Linked DNA regions of Homo sapiens: regions 1, 2 and 3 are each linked to region 4. The links are contacts of gene promoters, found by promoter capture Hi-C in human tissues and cell types (Jung and others, 2019). All regions are on one chromosome and are shown on one strand. The core of a region is centred on a gene start or on the middle of the fragment in contact, and the rest is flanking DNA. Distances in the headings are between cores, read along the strand shown. Region 1 has its middle 3.4 kb from the start of SNX9. Region 2 overlaps SNX9 (sorting nexin 9). Region 3 has its middle 110 kb from the start of SNX9. Region 4 holds the start of ZDHHC14 (zDHHC palmitoyltransferase 14).

Region 1 (2,700 bases), core at 6-2,505, 440 kb before region 4:
ATCCTGGGCACCCAGCACCATGAAAGCAAGAAGACTAGAGACTTCAAGCTTTTCCCACCAGAACAATTTCATAACCCTGGTTTTATTTTTTAGAAGTAATGGTGGAGGGCTAAGGTGGAAGGATTGCTTAAGCCCAGGTGTTCAACACCAGCCTGGGCAACATAGTGAGACCTCATTTCTAGAAGTTTTTTGTTGTTGTTGTTGTTTTAAAAAGAGCAAGACTGTGAAAAACAAATGAAAAAGTACATAAACAGAGATAAACATGGCCGGGCGCTGTGGCTCACGCCTGTAATCCCAGCACTTTGGGAGGCTGCGGCGGGCGGGTCACGAGGTGAAGAGATCGAAACCATCCTGGCCAACATGGTGAAACCCCGTCTCTACTAAAAATACAAAAATTAGCTGGGCATGGTGGCACGCGCCTGTAGTCCCAGCTACTCAGGAGGCTGAGGCAGGAGAATCACTTGAACCCGGAAGGCGGAGGTTGCAGTGGGCCGAGATCGAGCCACTGCACTCCAGCCTGGGCAAGACTCCGACTCAAAAAAAAAAAAAAAAAAAAAGAGATAAACATGTGCACTTTCACAATAAGCCACACCGAAGGGATCTTGAACATAACTAAAATCTTTTTCACATTTTTAGTAATGAATTGGGTAGTATATCTCCAGTAAATACTGCTAAACTTAGGAGTTTTATTTTTATATACGTCAGTCAAAATCAACATTACTTCATGAATGTTATAGAGGAGACCCACTTTCATAGAATATATTTGTATATAGAGAGAGAGACTGGGTCTTGTTCTGTCACCCAGGCTGGAGTGCAGTGGCCCAATCTCGGCTCACTGCAGCCTCCGCCTCCCAGGTTCAAGTGATTCTCCTGCCTCAGCCTCCGCAGTAGCTGGGATTACGGGCACCTGCCACCATGCCTGGCTAAGTTTTTTTTTATTTTTTATTTTTTATTTTTAGTAGAGACAGGGTTTTGCCACGTTGGCCAGGCTGGTCTCAAACTCCTTATCCTAAGTGATCCGTCTGCCTCAGCCTCCCAAAGTGCTGGGATTACAGTCGTGAGCCACTGCACCCGGTGGTGGCGTTTGTCTTCTGCTCCCACTTGATCAACCATGCATATCTCTCTTCTGTCCACCTCCGTCCTTTGAGCGAGCTTCCTTAGAGTTGATTCTCTACGCAGGCCTGCCTTTAGAACCCAGAACCCAGAACCCTGGGCCATGCTAAGTTCAGATTTTCTTCTACAGCATGAACTTCCATTACTCCAGGGGTGAGAACACAATTAGTTAAGCAATTGGATTTGCATTTGCAGACTGCGTTTGGTTATTACTAGATTGCACTTTCAAAAGAAAAAGACCTGGAGGCAGAGCAACAGAGCCACTCTGTTTAGGCTTTGTACTCTAGCTGCTTTTTTTTTTTTTTTTTTTGAATCATGCCACAGGAGGTAAAGTGATTAGGATTCACAGGAAGCTTCGTCCAGCCACACAGCTGGGGGGACAGGAAAATAATGACCACCACCTCTTCCCTGCGTTTGTTCAGTATGGCCAGGTGTTTTTATTCAAAATTAGATTCTCCTTTGGTTTTTAAGAGCTCAGAGCCCAACTAAATGCTTGGTCAACTAATGGGAAACTAGCATGGGAAAGTGCAACTATGGGAACTAATGTGGAACGGAGTGAAAATGTGTGATGGTCACCTAATGTAAGGATCGGAGGATGAGAATAATGTGTAACAATACAGAGTCAGCCTGGGTCTGGCACAAGGGGATACCTCCTCTCACTTTAGGGCATGAATTTAATGAGGTTAAAGAAAACCTTGGGGTGACCTTGAAAATAAACGTGGAAAGGAGTGCAGCTGGTGCCATTCCAATCCTAATAAACGTATGACGTCCTCACCTTGGACTGGATGCTGTTACAGGTGAGGGAGACAAAAGTCCCTGCTCTCTTAGAACTTAACAATCTGTAGAGGGTGGGGGAAGTCAATAAACTACAAATAAATGTCTAATGTGCCAGGTGCTTTTATAAGTGCTCTGAAGAATCTTTATAGGAATAAAGAGAAGCAGGAGAGGTTTTTTCCTATAAGGTTTCCCCTTGGCATTAGACTAGCTGAATGTATGTATGAAAAGTGTATGGTTTTAAAATTATGTTTGTTTTAGTTGGTTAGCTGATTGGTTGGTTTTCATTTTTGTTCCATTTTGACTAAGTCACATTTCTTTCTCCATCGTCTGGGAGACACAGAGCCGTAAACAGTAACGGGACATAGTGTCCAGAACTAGAAATTGAGCAGAAATCTGACTGCTAGGACCTGAGCAGTCCAGGAAGGGACAGTTGGCATGGGCAGAGAGAGACTGGAGGCTAGGGAGGCTGCATGGATGGCAGAGGTGGCAGCAGCAGGCGGTGTTAGGCTGGAACAGGAACCGTTTGCTCAAGGTTCTATACTAGACTGTTTGCTGAGTTTGGGTAGTTCCGACTCCCAGAAGGACTGAGCTGTGAGGTGAGGGCAGCAAGAGAAGATTGGCTCACCAGTTGGCTTCCCAAATGAAGTCCCAGCCTGTAGGATCCCTGGTGTCTCATGAAACTTTGCCCTAGGATATTGTTTTAATTCTTTGACCTGTTAAGGACAGGCTGGCGTGAGTCCTTGGAGACGTACTGGCATTCAGTGATTGGGCACAAAGAAGTAACAGTGGATATAGGACATTTTGCTAGTT
Region 2 (2,700 bases), core at 173-2,672, 460 kb before region 4:
CCTCAAGCAGCACAGCAAGGAAGTGGTGGAGAGAGTTACTAAACTGAGGGGCAGGAGGAAAGGCCTAAAGAGGAGACTGGAGGGCAAGATGGGGTCACACCTTCAAGGCCATGGCACTAGGTTACCATCCCCACCCTCAAATTATGCTTCACCCTGGGCAAGAGGCGGTGGCCTGGGAACTAAAATATTATAGGTCTGCTTCCCCAGCAGGACGGGGATGTAATTTGTTGTAAATTATTACAGAAAAGCAAAATTATAATTTTTCCCCCACTTGGACTGTGCAATGGAATTCACACCTGAATCCATTCAATTATTTGTATTTTACAGATAAGGAAAGTGAAGCAGTAAGTAACTTTTCAAAGTAATGTATTAATAACTGGACTGGGATTTGAACCCAGGCTCCTAATCTCTATGCTATATCACCATTACATGAAAATACATATGCTTCATAATCAGGTAGAACTAATTTTATTCATTCATTGCATCTCTAATAAAAGACATAATTTCTCTTTTATTCTAAATATAAAATTCAAGAGAAACAAAACACTAATAGGGGAAATAGGCTTTTATGTAACAGCTATAATGAATCACAGAGGAATGCCAATGACCTCAACATTAATTCATTACATATATACATCCCCACACACATATAACAGTAATTATACACAAGGACAATTCATTGATACCTAACACCAAAAAGGTACTATGAAGTCCAGCGTTTTTAAGTAAACCTGTATTTTATTAACCGAATCTATATACATTTTAAAGAGTTAAAGATCCCCTGACAATTCACCAGCTGGGAATCCCTTCTCTAGAATAAGCTCTGGGTATTGCAAACCAGGTAAACAAAACACATCAAACAACAGCTTACCTGGAAATCAAAAGGAGCAGATCCATTTTAACCATTCCAAGACGCTATGTCCTCGGCCACAAAGGATTTAGAACAAGCCTGGGCACAGACTACTTGCCTCGAATGTTCACTGGTTCCTAAGAGTGGCTTAGTTTAACCAGTGCCAGATAAAATTTTAGAGTACAACCAGGGAAAGTGGACATTTACACTTCTCTAAAATGTACTTTCTGTCCTGCAAGGTCAGTCACTAAAATAGGAGCTCTTTAAATGAGACCTCAAACTAAACATGCCTTCAAGTATTTAACACCATTCCCTAAACTAGAGAAATGATCCTCTTCTACATCATGAGTAACATAATGTCAGAATATTTAGCACTTCTACATAAAATTTTCACACTATGGCTCTTTATTGATATACATTTATTTTTACTCTTAAGTTTCCAATGGCTAAATGGAGGGAAACAGGTCAGAGGGTCTCATTTCTGACTCCAAATACTGAGCTATCTCACTGTACACTATGTATACATACTTTTACCACAGCAACCGTACACCTAATGGAAGATATCTAAGTGTCTGTGTTCTCCATTAGACTGTAAATTCTCTGGATAGAAAAATATACATGCATTTTCACTTACAGTATAAATTCTAGAGAGAGACTGTTGAATAAAAAAAAAAAAAATTATTGGTCGAGCACAGTGGTTCATGCCTGTAACCCTAGCACTTTGGGAGGCTGAGGTGGGCAGACTGCTTGAGCCCAGGAGTTCAAGACCAGCCTGGGCAACATGGCAAAACACCATCTCTATAAAAAATACAAAAATTAGCCAGGCATGGTGATGCATGCCTGTAGTCCCAGCTACTTGGGAGGCTGAGGTGGAAAGATTGTTCGAGCCCGGGAAATTGGGGCTGCAGTGAGCTGCTACTGTACTCCAGCCTGGGCAACAGGGTGAGGTTCTGTCTCAAAAAAACAAACAAAATTTGATTTTTGGAAGCAATGTAGCATACTGAATATTTCTGTCAATATCCCTTGATGTTCATGCATAATAATATTCTAATGTTAACCACAGCCAACAATTACATGTATTCCTTCCATAATTAATGGTACAGCATATGCTGTTCACGGAACCCACAAGAAACTGAACAGTGCAGTTCAGTTGCCACCTTGTTTAAATGCCAACGACGGCTTCACGATCTGCTGCCCTTCTCTTATTTAGACACCCGTTACTTCTTACTGACTGCAGAGACAGGTCATATGAACACAGACAGCATGCCCATGCCTTCATGCATATGGGTCCTATAATAATACATGGGTGGATTTGATTATTCAGAGGTAGATTTACCTAGTTTGGGGACTACATTCTTTTTTCTAGCTTTGACAAACATTTGTTTCTTTACTTCCTTAAAGCTTCTAAGTGGGCAAACAGGAAAAATGAAGCCGCTGAAATTCAAATTCATCAAAATTAGGTATGGGTACTTACCACACAAATAACATTAAAAACTGGATTTACACAAAGGCATGTATTATCTGACTTATAAGTAATTTAAGAACAGGATTCTTCTCTCCTAGTGAATTAAAAGTTATTTTCATTATATAATCACGGTAGGAACATATTATACAATGCAAATAAATCTGGACTGATTACTGTTTTAATAACACACAAAACTGTATCGCATGTTTTCTGGCTAACTTAAAAGGCAATAGGAAGAGTAGTAACCAGCCTCCATGGTAATGTGAGATTGTAACAGTGTTGAGACATTTTGCATATAATACCAACGATCAATCAAAAGAACTGAAAAGTTACTGACAACACTACAAGTTGGCGAGAAACTAAATAGCTTCTGAGAATATTTTAC
Region 3 (2,700 bases), core at 153-2,652, 340 kb before region 4:
TTTCTTGCCATGGTGTCTTTTTAGAATGCATAGAGAAAGAGGGATATAGGATCTGAGCTCAAAGAGGACCCCAAAGGATGTGGGAAAAATGAAACGCTCATACACTGTTGGTGAGAATGGAAGTTAGTACAACCTCTGTGGAAAATTGGAGAGTTCTCAAAGAAGGAAAAATAGAACTACCCTTGGATCTGGCAATCCTACTACTGGTTGTTATATACCTGAAGGAAAATAAATCATTATATAAAAAAGACACCTGGACTGTCAGCTGTAGCAGTATTCACAATAGCGAAGTCCTGGAATCAACCCAAGTGCCCATCACCAGATGATTGGATTAAAAAGTGGTACATACATACATCATGGAATACAACTCAGCCATAAAAAAGAATGCAATATTGTCTTTTGCAGCAACATGGATAGAACTGGGGGCCATTATCCTTAGTGAAATGGCCCAGAAACAGAAAATCCAAAACTTCACTTTCTTACTTATATGTAGGTACCCCCAGACATACAGAGGGAAATAATAGACACTGGAGACTCCAAATGGTGGGCAGGTGGGAGGGGTGAGGGATCACCTCTTGGGTTCATTGTACACTATTTGGGTAATGAGCATACTGAAAGCCCCGATTTCACCACTGTGCAATATATTCATGTAAAACAACTGCATTTGTACCCCTAAATCCATAAAAATAAAACATTTAATAAAACTAAAAAAGACTTTGAAAAAAATAAGAGGCTCATGCCAAACCTGAGTGGCATTTCTATAGCTATGCTTTGAAGGCCCATCCTTAAACACGCCCGGCTCAGCCTCAGTTCCTTGCACGTGACCTACTTTTTCAAGAAAACATTTATGGAGCACTTCCTGTGCGTAAGACCTTGGTGTTAGGAGCTGCAGAGGCAAGACTGTTCCTTACAACCTGGTTTCCTTCTGGATGCTTCCTACCTAGTGAGCACCAGGCAGTAAATAAAATAAGGGTGGAGCCATGGCTCTGAGCAGGGGGTGGGCACTGTGGTGTGGGAGAAGGGGGTACTTCTCCCTCCTCAGGCTGGAAGAGAGGTAGAGCAGGCATGCACTCTGACCCGAGCAGGGCGGGCCAGCCGAGCACAAGCTTCTTTCACTTAAAGGAGCAGGAATGATAAAGAGTAACTTAGCTAGGCTGGGTGGGGTGGATCACACTTGTAATAGCAGCACTTTGGGAGTCTGAGGCCCAAGAGTTCTAGACCAGGCTGGGGAATACAGCCAGACCCTCATCTCTACAAAAAATGAAAATTAGCTGGTGTGGTGGTGCATGCTTGTAGTCCCAGCTACTTGGGGGACTGAGATGGGAGGATTGTTGAGCCAGGAGTTTGCGGCTTCAGTGAGCTATGATCGCACCACTGCACTCCAGCCTCGGTGACAGAGCAAGACCCTGTCTCAAAACAAACAAACAAACACCAAAAAAACCAAGGGACGAACGCTGGCTAGATGGATCAGGTGTCACAGCCATTGCTGTTTGGCCAGTAAAATGCAGCCCAGCAAGTGCGGAGATGACAGACGGGCATGGGATTGCTGAGCAGGGGTTCGCAAAGGACAGAGGTACTGGACACTGAATTTGCTTTGTGTTGATATTGTTTCCCCTTTTCCCAAAAAGAGGCATGGGAAGCATGGCATGAATCACTTATGGGCAACGTGAGACAAATTTCTAAAATGGTTTGCTGCACGCAACCAATTTCACATTGAAAGCCACTCCTGCTAAATGCTGAAAAGCCATAAATCATCCAGCCTAATGGATTTTGTCCCATCTATTCAGTATCTTCCAGGGCATTGAATTTAGAATGTAATGCACTAAGAAAAAAACAAAACAAAACACCTCCCTAGAAAACCATATAAGCTTGAACATTTTCAAAGTAAAATCGCTCATGCTAAAAGCATCCCTCCCTCCTTGTGAAAAGACCTTGACCACTTCTCTCTTGCTGGTCTCCCCGTAGCAGACAACGGCTCGCCTCCCAGTGCCACAGGAAGAACGTGGCTGCCTCAACATGAGCCCAGCCCTGCCACTCCAGGTGTGAGACCTGGGCAAGCAGCATCAGTCTTGCAGCCACAGCTTTCTTGTCCATCCAGTGGACCTAGGGCTATTGTGACTATAAATGAAAAAAGAACCTAAGACAGCCCTGGCCTTAAGTAGTTGCTTAAAACGTGATGGCCGGCATGATGGTTTTTTAAACATTTGGGTCCCCTGCTCTCTTCCCCCATGTTTCCTAGTGTCTGGGTTGGAGGCAGCCTTAGCCACCTTCTTCTTACCTTGCCTTCCCTCCTTCCTACCTGTGTCCAGGACAAAATGCCTGAGGAATGTCTCTGCTTCATTAAGCAGCAAAACACACAATGACCCTTGTCATTATAGCCGCTATTCCTGGTGGGCGAGGGTCCACCCAGCTCTGGCTTCAGTTAAGCTTCTGACTGGGGAGAGCCTGGGATCCTTTTTTGGGGAAATGGCTCACTAGTTCTTTGACTGGGTGGGGCTATTTTCCAGGCTGCAAGAAAAGAGCCTCGCCCCTGCTGCTCCGAGGCCAGGCTTCTCCCTGCAGAGCCTGGGTCAGATCAGCTGGGATTCCAGGGCTGACCAATTTCGTCATGAGGGTTGCTCTAATTCACTGTTTGGGAAACTCAGCCCTGGAAAACAAAACTGTGTTGCAAGATTTCTTCATTCCTTGGTTTGCACACCA
Region 4 (2,700 bases), core at 20-2,519:
CCAGAACGGCGTTCTTTCCGGGGGCCCAAAAGCAATCAGACCTTTAAAAGAAAAAAGAGGGAGCGCAGACTGGCATTATATAACAATTTACAGTAGATAAGACTTCTAGAAAACGAAAGCAGCCCGAGGAGGGGCGGGGGACAGGGGAGACCAGGGGAGTGCGGCGTCGGGGGAGCGGTCGCCACCACTTACTCGAAGGCGAAGAAGAGTCCGCTAGTGACCAGGATGAGGACGAGCGTCAGGTAGAAGACGCCCGTCTGCCGGGCCATCATGATCCTCCCGTTACAGAAGAACTTGTTTCTTCCCGGGAACACCTCCCATTTCCTCCGGGCCGCGATTTTCTTCTTCTTGTGGGGCGACTCCATGGGGGAGGAGCTGTGGGTGCTGATCTGGCTGTACTCGCAGTCTTTCATGGGCCCGCCGCCGCCGGGAGGCATCCACGAGGGCAGCCGGCTGGGGGCGCACACCCCCAGGAGCCCCCCGGCCGCGCGGGCCCCGCCGAGCCACGACCGCCGCCGGCCGCCCGGCCGCCCCCCGAGCCGCGGCGCCGCGGCCCCTACACGGGCTCCCGGCTCGGCGACAACTTTGCCGAGGACACCCAGGTTAACCCTCCGGGGAGCCCAACTGTCATAGCAGAATCCCCGCTCCGTGAGGGGACGGCGCTGGTCCGCAGCCCGCGGCAGCACTCCTCCGTCGCTTCCAGCCCGCGTCCCGGGGCGCGGGGCTCAGCCCGGCCGGCCCCCGGGTCGCCGAGCGCCCGCCCCCTCGCGCGGCTGCCCGCTCGGCCCCGCAGCCCCCGGCTCCCCGGCCGCGCCTCGGCTCTGGCCCGCCGACCCCCGAGCACTGCGCCCCGAGGGGACACGAGGCGGCGGCCCCGGCGCCGGCTTCCTCGGGAGCCACTTCTGCGGCGCGGCCAGGTTGGGTCCACTCCTTCCTCCGGCAGCGGATCCTCCCAGGAGAGAGCGCTGGCGACTGGGCGGCCGCGCGCGGCACCGGCAACCCCTCCCAGGGGTGGGGACAACCACGCACGTTTTTCTGTCAGGAGCCTCTCGGCGAGAGCCGGGGCGCCGCTCGCACCGCGACCCGGTGTCGCTGCGCCTGGCAGCCTAGTCGAATCCGCGGCCCCCGCGCGGGGATGCGCGGGCCGAGGGCGGCGGCGGCTCGCGGGCCGCGCGGCGAGGGCTCCCTTGCTCCCTCCTACCCGGAGGAAGCGGCCCCGGCGCGAGGAGGGCCGCGGGGACACAGCACAGACACTTGTTTGCAAGGCTCAGCCCGGCGCGCGCGCGGCGCTCCGAGTGGGTCCGCCTCCTCCGGGCCGGGTGGGCGGTGGCCTCGCGCCTCACCCGCGGCTCCTCCTCCTGCTCCTCCTCCTCCTCGCCCGCGAAGCCAGGGCACCGGCGCAGCGAGATTCCAGCCCCAGCCCCCTCGGGCGGGCGCCCTGGGGTGTGGAAGGCGCGGGGCTCCCTGTGGCATCGCCCAAGTAGGGATGGGGTCGGGCGCCCGCGGCCCCGCCGCGCAGTGCGCTCCTGGCCGACTTCAGTCCGTCTCGCGGCTTCTTCCGGGTTTATCCCGCGCAGCAGCTGCCGCCTCGGGACACGCTCATTCCCACGGCCACCGGCAAGCCACTCCTGGCGACTCCCCGGGACCTGAGGAGCCGCGGCGCGGAGGTGACCCTCCCCGGCCTGCGCCTCCCTTCTTCCTCCTCCCCAGCTGGGCGCGTGGTCGCGTCGCCCGGGGACTCTGGTGATGCCCGAGAAATGGGCTGGGGGTGCCGGGTGCCAGGATGGGGTGGGGCGGCCCTAGGCCGGCCTGACTTCGGGACCGGGCTGCGGGCGAGGGTCTCGGGGCCCGGCTCGGCCGGCTTCCGGGCCGAGAAAGAAGGGCAGAGGAAGCGGTCAGGGTCCCCTCCGGCCCCGGCCTCCCTCCCGGAGTATAAGCCCTTGGAGGCCAGGTTTTGGGTTGCTGCCGCCCAGCTCTTTCGGTCTCCACTTCTCCCCACGGACGTTTACAGCTGCTCGCTTTATTTCTCCCTCCATTCCCCCGTGGAGCCCCCTCGGCAGCGGAGGGGTCGCGTGCTTCTCCTCTCCCGCCTGCGCCTCCCCCCTTCCCACCCGACAGCCCAGGAGGAGCTGCGGGCGCGGCCCTGGGACGGCCGGAGCCTGGGGCTTCTGCTCGCTCGCGCCCTCCCAGGCGTTGCCGCGGGTCCGAGCCCCCGCAGAGGTGGGCATAGCCCCGGGGCCGCAGAAAACGAAGGCAGCTGGGCAGGGATGCTCAATTTCCCGAGCCCCACTTTCCTTTCACAGCCCACTGGGATGTGTAGTTCTTCCGCCCGCAGGCCTGCGCCGAGGAGAAGCACGACTCGGGGCCTTAGAAACTACAAGTCCCTGCATCCCCCGCGACAAGGGCAGGAGAGGCGTGGTGCTGGGCGTTCTGGGGCTAGGTGGTGGGAGATGGGAACCAACAAAGGGGGTTGTGGGGAACGGTGCCTTCTCTGTACTGGGCAGTTTGCACGTTACACATGTTCTTTGTCTAATCTTCGCCGGAACCCGGTGAGGCATTATTGTATCCAGCTTAGAGAAAGCTTAACTACTGGCCAAACATCACAAAGCTCCCAAGTAGTAGAGATGGCATCGAACCCAGAGCCCTAAGTATGTCCCTTACAAAGCGTGCCTCAGTGAGGAGTGTCGAAGGGGGATGAGA

The links. Contacts are between HindIII fragments. The study calls those that stand out against the background at their distance.
Region 1: a fragment that was not itself captured here is called in contact with the fragment with the promoter of ZDHHC14 in region 4 in 1 of the 25 tissues and cell types used here (mesenchymal stem cells).
Region 2: a fragment that was not itself captured here is called in contact with the fragment with the promoter of ZDHHC14 in region 4 in 2 of the 25 tissues and cell types used here (dorsolateral prefrontal cortex and mesenchymal stem cells).
Region 3: a contact is called between a fragment that was not itself captured here and the fragment with the promoter of ZDHHC14 in region 4, in 1 of the 25 tissues and cell types used here (dorsolateral prefrontal cortex).

Annotation. Positions count from the first base shown.
Region 1 is chr6:157,818,539-157,821,238 of GRCh38, reverse strand. No RefSeq gene overlaps it. Among named protein-coding and RNA genes, the nearest start is that of SNX9, 3.4 kb to the left of the region's middle. The HindIII fragment of the contact is 3,766 bases long and covers 1-2,700 here.
Region 2 is chr6:157,837,146-157,839,845 of GRCh38, reverse strand. The region is part of intron 1 of SNX9 (sorting nexin 9); the gene reads right to left. Among named protein-coding and RNA genes, the nearest start is that of SNX9, 15 kb to the right of the region's middle. The HindIII fragment of the contact is 7,828 bases long and covers 1-2,700 here.
Region 3 is chr6:157,715,803-157,718,502 of GRCh38, reverse strand. No RefSeq gene overlaps it. Among named protein-coding and RNA genes, the nearest start is that of SNX9, 110 kb to the left of the region's middle. The HindIII fragment of the contact is 5,901 bases long and covers 1-2,700 here.
Region 4 is chr6:157,379,759-157,382,458 of GRCh38, reverse strand. ZDHHC14 (zDHHC palmitoyltransferase 14) reads right to left here and starts at 1,269. Exons shown (of 9, transcript NM_024630.3): 1 at 193-1,269. The coding sequence starts at 437. It overlaps LOC124901446, which reads left to right and starts at 1,368. Exons shown (of 1, transcript XM_047419644.1): 1 at 1,368-2,700. The coding sequence starts at 1,758. The coding sequence ends at 2,648. RefSeq lists enhancers at 212-351, 1,110-1,721, 2,333-2,700 and silencers at 442-491, 1,002-1,891, 2,052-2,131. The HindIII fragment of the contact is 9,861 bases long and covers 1-2,700 here.